Regions from separate parts of the Homo sapiens genome. Here region 2 is linked to region 1. Evidence: promoter capture Hi-C in human tissues and cell types (Jung and others, 2019). All regions are on one chromosome and are shown on one strand. Each heading gives the region's core, a stretch centred on a gene start or on the middle of the fragment in contact. The rest is flanking DNA. Distances are from core to core; before and after follow the strand shown.

Region 1 (2,500 bases), core at 1-2,500:
TGCCTGGTCACCGGGGAGGAACTTTACAACATCACTGAAGGTTTGAGAATAGTGCTTCTGGCTGGTCGCGGTAGTTCCTAAGCTGCCTTTGTTCCCACTTCTCTGATCCAGGTTAACTTTTAACATTCTGACAAACTCGGACAAAAGTAACGTTGGGATTACGTCAGGAATTCCCACCCTTCAACAAATATTTGTTGCGGGCCTACTATGTACTCAGTGCAATGATACCCAATTTTGTAGTCTCCTAAACAGATCCTACTCGAGAGGTCTTGATTATTTACAGATGCAGTTAGAAAAGCGCCCATATTATTTTTAATTGAGTTCAAGAAATAGAATGCAGCGTTGAATTAGAAGACTAATTCCTTCTTTTAATATGTTGAAAATTTTTTATCGTTAAACATTTTGTAAAGGATTTTTTGAGGGAGTCGTTAGAAAGTCTATAAATACAACTACGCACACTAAAAAGTAGTCATCTTTTTAAAAATAACTTTGTTTAAATGCATGCTTAGTGTGAATGGATTTACCTAATTCTCTTAATAGCATGCATTTCTGATCTTCCCTACATTAACTGTAATAGCAACTGATATAACAGAAAAATGTAAGTGACTTGTAGTCGACTTGGCCACCTGCCACACGGGCTCGGTGAAGGTTAATGAGGAGCTATTTGGCACTTCGAGAATAGGTGGCACTAGACACAGAAATATCAACAGGCTATTTGTATGCTAACTAGGAGTTTCGGTGCCAGGTAACCATTGATGTACTCTTGCAGGAGAAAGAAGGATGTCGCTGTACGCCCCGAAAGAGAGGCATCATTTTTACGCCCAGTTTGGATTAATGATTGATTGAGTCGCAGAAATGCTTGTGATGCTGATAGAGGCCAATACTGGTCTTTCTGATCTCTTCCTCGTCGTTTATTACCTTCTCTTGTGGACAACGCATTCCTAAGAATGTATCTCTGCTTGTTTCCCAGTCCGCGAGATAAATGGTGACTTCTCTCTTGCAGGCACCGTCATACCTCGGGTTTAGATTCTGGACAGGCGAGCCGGCTGCACCGAAGGCCCGGTAGGCGGACTCTGGCGGAGCGCTTCAGAGAGAAGAGTGTAGACCGCGGGAGGCGGAGGGCTCCCTGCCAGCGTGCCTCGGCCAATCAGTATTCACACCGCCTGACAACCGGCCAATCAGAGGACGTAAAGCTCCGGGGCCTGAGCGGACAGTACTAGGAAGGGGAGCGCAGTCTGCAGACTGAAGCCAGTGGCGCTGCGCTGAATGCAACTGCGCGCGCCCGCCGGGTGAGCCAGCGATCTGAGCCAGGCGGGGGCGGCCCGACCTTTCCCGCCCAGCCTGGGTCAGAGGAAGCCGAAAGCGGCCTCAGCAAGGTGAGGCGCCCGAGGCTGCAGAAGACCGAGCAGAACTTTGCAGAGTTCGGGATGTGCTGGGCTAGGTCGCTGAGGACTTGACTGGCTTCCTCCCTCCTTCCCTCCACCTACCTTCTCCCTCCCCCTCCACCATCCAGTGGGTTCGTTCCGGGCCTCCAGCTATCAGCTCCCGATCTCGTGTTTGAGGGTAGCGACCCCGATTTCTGTTTGCATGCACAGCCAGCAGCCCTAGCGCCAGATCCTAAAGCTGGATATCTTTTAACTGGGCTACCAGCCCGGGCCTCAAAGTTTTGGTGAGTGCTGTGATGCCGCTCGGGGTGTCAGGGAGGGCAAAGGGCGTGAATCATCTTTCACCTTTTCTGTGTGACTTGGATGCCTTACCTTAAATATATAAACCAAGGCCTAAGTACAGAGAGCCCACGCGGCTCAGCCCTGTGCACCTCAGGTACTATTAAGGCTGGACGGGCGTCTGTATTGTGCTCTTTGCCCTTATGGGACGCTAATGACAACAAAATTTTGGTTTTCAGTTGAGTATTTTGGGGAGGGGGGTGAGAGGACCTCTTCAAGCCCAAGGAGGGGTCCTTGTGGTGGTGTAGGCTGATGAGAGGCATTTGGGAAGCATAGAGTGGTACTTCAGTGAGTCTGAAGGGCCACTTGTAATCAAAGGAAAACTGTTCTTCCACGGATAGTTTTATATGCATCATGGCCATACTAGTTGAGTATGGGGAAATCCGACAAGTGGCCTGGGGCTGCCTATTTGGACACAATATTTTGTGTGTGTGTGATAAGTGAGTTACCCAGGGACTTGTCCGGAAAGCCCGTGTAAAGCCAGAGAGGGCCACGGTTAAAGGTCAGGTACTCACAGAGCACTTAGAATTAATAAAATAAAACCTTTGTTGGGTTGTGGATCCCTGGGGGCCCTGGAGATACAGGAAAGGCACGTGTGGCCTGGAAGTGAGGGACATGTAATGAGAACAGGATGACTCAAGCGGCCGGAGGCGGGCAGACCAGGAGCTTTGGGCCGGAGGCTCAGGGATGGTCCCTGACGGCGGCCGGTGGGTCTTTGGATTTCTTTGTGTTTCCCCAGAGTGAGGGCCGCCAGGCTCAGGCCCCAGCGAAGCCCC
Region 2 (4,715 bases), core at 906-3,405, 130 kb after region 1:
GTCTGGTGAAAAGCAGGAAGGACGAGGCAGGCATCAAACTGATTTACTATTAAAGAGCTGTCCTTTAAAAATTCTAGTAAGACCAAACAAATGTGTTTAGTGCTAATTGGGTTGATCAGATTTTCACTGATGATAGTTTTATCATGGGAAAAATGATTTAATGATCAATTATTATAACTTGTCAAATAAGCTTTCATAATGAAGATTCCACTGTCTTATTTGGTAACTGGCTGATGGATTTATGGGGGTTCGGATAGCAGATGTTGTGTCATCAGCATATGATATACATTGTGTCTGCACAATAGAAAGCAAAGTAGAAACTTTGCTTTCTACTGGTGATGGTTCTGATTGATTGCATTTTTCTCTCTACAGAGTGAAGCTTTATCATTCGGTTAGAATTATTCAAGCAGAGGTTCGATAAATCCTCCAAGGAGCTTCAAGTAGTGTCCTTCATCTTTCCAGGGGTTCTTAGACTTTAACAGGCATGAAATTCACTGGGGGAACTTGCTCAAGACCCTCAGAGGTTCTGTACAGCAGATATGGGCTGGTTGTCAGGAATCTTCATTTTTAACAAGCACCCCTGGCGATTCTGTTGCAGATGGTTTTCCGGGTGTCATGTGAGAAGCATTGATCTACGATCTGTTCCCCTTCCTGCTTCCTCTTCTCCTTTTTGCCCATGTTCTGTTGCTATCCAGAAGGAAAAGACTTTCTGAAGGTGAGGGTCTCATTTTATCGCCTGTGACTTTTTGCTTGTAACTGGGAGGTTTTACTAAAGGGCATGCCGTTTTCAGACTCTTTTCATACCTAAAAAAAAAAAAAAGGTTTGTCTTTTGAATTCCAAAGGAATATTTGTTCATTAACTAGAAAACTTGTAAAAACTCAGTAAGGGATAAATAATAAAATATAAATCATCATAATTCCTCTATCTAGACAGAGCCACCATTAATGTTCTGGTGTATCTCCTTTTCTTCTTCTCCCACTTTACATAAAAATTGGAATCAAATATATTTAAAGGCCTATGCTGTTTTTCATACCACTCATGTCTGATCATCTCAGTTCTAACATTGCGGTGAAGGTATTCTGCTCTATTCACAAATCTCCTGTTTAGTATCACCTCATGAATCTCTTTAGAATATTTATGCAAATACGTTGTTTTATGAAGAAAAGATACATTTAGCAAATGAACAAGGTCTTGCTGGTTTAAAATGAGCAGGATAATGTTCATTTTAGGAAAGACTCAGAGTAAAGACATTTATTTTTATTATTTTTGGTGAATTTAAGTTATAAACAACTCTCCCTATGCCATTTGCATTTAAAACCTTATTAGACTACCACATCTCTGTGCATTGTCACAGTGGTCATGGTGTAGTGAGGGCTTACATGTTCATTCAGCTCCTTGAATCAGCCAGGAATCTTTGGTTGCAAGCAACAGAAACTGACCTTGGCTAACATAACATGGAAAGTTTACTGGTCAGACATGGGTAGCTCAAAGAACGGAAAGAAAGGCAGAAGAACTGGGCATTAGGGAATATAGAATAGCTCAGAAGATCTAGGTGGCTCGTGCTAAAGGGTGTTCTCTTTTGGGCATTGGTCCCGGAATTAATCTGCACCAACTGTTTTCTGTTACTGGCTCCTCCTCTAAAAGAACACCAGTTCATTCATTCATGCATCACATATTTATTTATTTTTAATAATGTCAGCTTTTATTTTAGATTCAGAGTGTACTTGTGCAAGTTTGTTACATGGGTATATGGCATGATGCTGAGTTTTGAGGTATAAAGGATCATAGTACCCAATAGGTACTTTTTCAGCCCTTATCCCCATCTCCGCTCTACCCACTCTGGTAGTCTCCAGTGTTCATTGTTCCTATCTTTATGTCCATGTGTACCCAGTATTTAGCTCCCACTTACATGTGAGGATAAGTGGTATTTGTTTTTCTGTTCCTGTGCTGTTTGCTTAGGATAATGGCCTCCAGCTGCATCCATGTTGTTACAAAGGATATGACTTAATTCTTCTGTAGGGCTGCATAGTATTCCATAGTGTATATATACTACATTTTCTCTATCCAATCTGCTGTTGATGGGCATCTAGGTTGATTCCATGGCTTTACTATTGAATCATGTATTTATTGAGTGCAAAGCACCGTTTTAGGTTCTCGGTTTAAAACACTGAACAAAACAGATAAAAATTATTGCCATGATGGAGCTTACATTCTAGTTAGAAGAGACTGGCAATATAAATTAACAAACAAAAATGAATAAAACATATAATATGCTACTTGGCAATTCATGTTATGGAGACTAAATGGAGAGGTTGATGCATTTTTTTGTTTGTTTGTTTGTTTTACTTTTTCTATGGGTGATGCAATTTTAAATTGAGTGACTGGTAAAGGCCTGACTTAAAAGTGAGGTTTGAGCCAAGACCCAGAAGACATCTGTGTAGATGTTAGGGATGAGCTTTCCTGGCAGAGGAGACAGTGATGACTTGCTTTTTAAAAGGCTCACTGTGGGCCAGACGCGGTGGCTCACGCCTGTAATCCCAGCACTTTGGGAGGCCAAGGCAGGCAGATCACGAGGTCAGGAGATTGAGACCATCCTGGCTAACGCAGTGAAAGCCCATCTGTACTAAAATACAAAAAAAAAAATTAGCCGGGCATGGTGGCAGGTGCCTGTAATCCCAGCTACTTGGGAGGCTGAGGCAGGAGAATGGCGGGAACCCGGGAGGCAGAGCTTGTAGTGAGCTGAGATCGCCCCACTGCACTCCAGCCTGGGCGACAAAGGGAGACTCTGCCTCAAAAAAAAAAAAGGCTCACCCTGGCTGCTCTGCTGAGAATACACACCCAGGTAGGAGACGATTTGGGCTTGGGCAAGAGTGACCTTGGTGGAGGTGATGAGAGGGATTGGCTCTGGATCTTTTTCGAAGGAATGGTCATTAGGATTTAATGGCAGCTAGGATACGAAGCATGACAGAAAGAGATGAATCAATCATGACTCCCAGGTTTCTTCACCTGAGCAGCTATTAAGATGGAAAAGGCTACGGGAAAGAGCAGTTTTTGGGGGATTCAGAAGCTTGGTTTCGATGTGTTAAATTGCAAGTAGGCAATCAGGGTTCAAGGGAGAGGTCTGTGCTGGAGATATTAATTTGGGAGACATCAGTAAATCATTGGTATTACAACCATGAGGCTGGTTGAGATCAACTTGGGAGTGAGTGTAGATGGAAAAGAGAAAAAGCCCGAGGCAGAGACACAAGGGGAGGAACTGGAAAAGAGGACTGAGGAGAAGTGACCTAACCGACTAGACCATCTTGTATCTTATGGCCATGCCTTAGTCTGTGAATCGGAGCACCATGCTTGATAGTCTCACCAAGATTGCAGGCAATGGTGGAGTTGGTACTTCAAAGCCATTATCAGAAGGAATGGACTTGTGCAGGCATAAACATGTGGCTACCATATTCCTCTTTCTCAAATTTGCTAGCTATGTATTTCGCTCCTTTCACAAAAGTATGTAATGGAAGTAAGTTGCATATGAAGTACTAAGGCACATAATCTGGATTATATGAAGTTACTGGGTCCTTGTGCAAATCCATGCTGTTTAATTTCTTAATAAAAATAAGCTCAAGAATCCCCACTGTCCTTTGAATTCTTGAAACTCTCGAGTGCCAATGATTTGATTGCCAAACTGGAAATTAGACTGTAAACCTTTAAGGCAAGGATTGTGCCTTATTTGTCTCTGTGTCCCTTACCAAACATAGAGCATGGTATAGGTTAGGTATTTAATATATGCTTTTTTCTTAAAAAAAAAAAAAAAAGAGAGGGTCTTCCTATGTTGCTCAGGCTGTACTTGAACTCCTGGGCTTAAGTGATCCTCCTGTTTCAGACTCCTGAATAGCTGGGACTACAGGTGCATTGCCAGCACACCTGGGCAATATATGCTTTTAAAATAAATCAATGCATGAATCATTTGAGACACTTGACACCTTTTATTTCCTTTTTGTTGTTGGGTAGCATATTTATCAGAACTTTTATTTTCAAAATAGAAACCTAGATAAAACCATCTTAAGCAAGAAATGAAATGTATTGGGTCTCATGATTAAAATGTGAGAATGACTTTAGGCATGACTGTATTCAGGTGTCAAGCAATATATTCATATCTATCTCTCACTTTTGACAGTGCTTCATTCGTTAAGGGCACCGTTCTCACACAGGATCTTTCCCCTGCAAGATGTTCACCAGCAGATCCAGATTTACATTGTACCAGCTTAGCAAACCCGGTAGAAAGGAAACATCTTTTCCCAGTAGTTCCTGAAGAAGTTCTCAGACATGGGCCACATGTGTAGCCCTGAATCAATCACTGTGGCCAGGATGATGGAGTCTTCTCTTCGTTGAGTCCTGGTCAAATGTTCTCCTTGAGTACTAGGACCATGAAGTAGGCTCTGCCCAAATTGCATCAACTAAGAAGTGATCCTGCAGGAAAAATAAAGGTGATAATGGCATAAGACAAAGGAATGGATACTGAGCAGGCAGAAGCAACAGATGGCCACTACAGTTATGAAGTATATCATAGGAGCACATGGGAGAAGCAGTCAAATTCCCTGATCCTTCATAGTGTCTTTTTACACAGAAATTGCCACATCTGGTTGTGTTTGGTTTATCCATGGTTTGGAATGAGTCAGGAAATCACAAGCAGTTGTGCTTGAACTTTGTAAACTACAGAACC

Evidence for each region. The method cuts DNA at HindIII sites, captures the fragments that hold promoters and counts their contacts. A contact is called where the count stands out against the background at its distance.
Region 2: a fragment that was not itself captured here is called in contact with the fragment with the promoter of DMRT2 in region 1 in 2 of the 25 tissues and cell types used here (H1 embryonic stem cells and mesendoderm cells).

The regions. Positions count from the first base shown.
Region 1 is chr9:1,049,107-1,051,606 of GRCh38, forward strand. DMRT2 (doublesex and mab-3 related transcription factor 2) reads left to right here and starts at 1,251. Exons shown (of 4, transcript NM_181872.6): 1 at 1,251-1,669; 2 at 2,464-2,500. RefSeq lists an enhancer at 1,023-1,892. The HindIII fragment of the contact is 14,990 bases long and covers 1-2,500 here.
Region 2 is chr9:1,179,670-1,184,384 of GRCh38, forward strand. No RefSeq gene overlaps it. Among named protein-coding and RNA genes, the nearest start is that of DMRT2, 130 kb to the left of the region's middle. The HindIII fragment of the contact is 5,380 bases long and covers 1-4,715 here.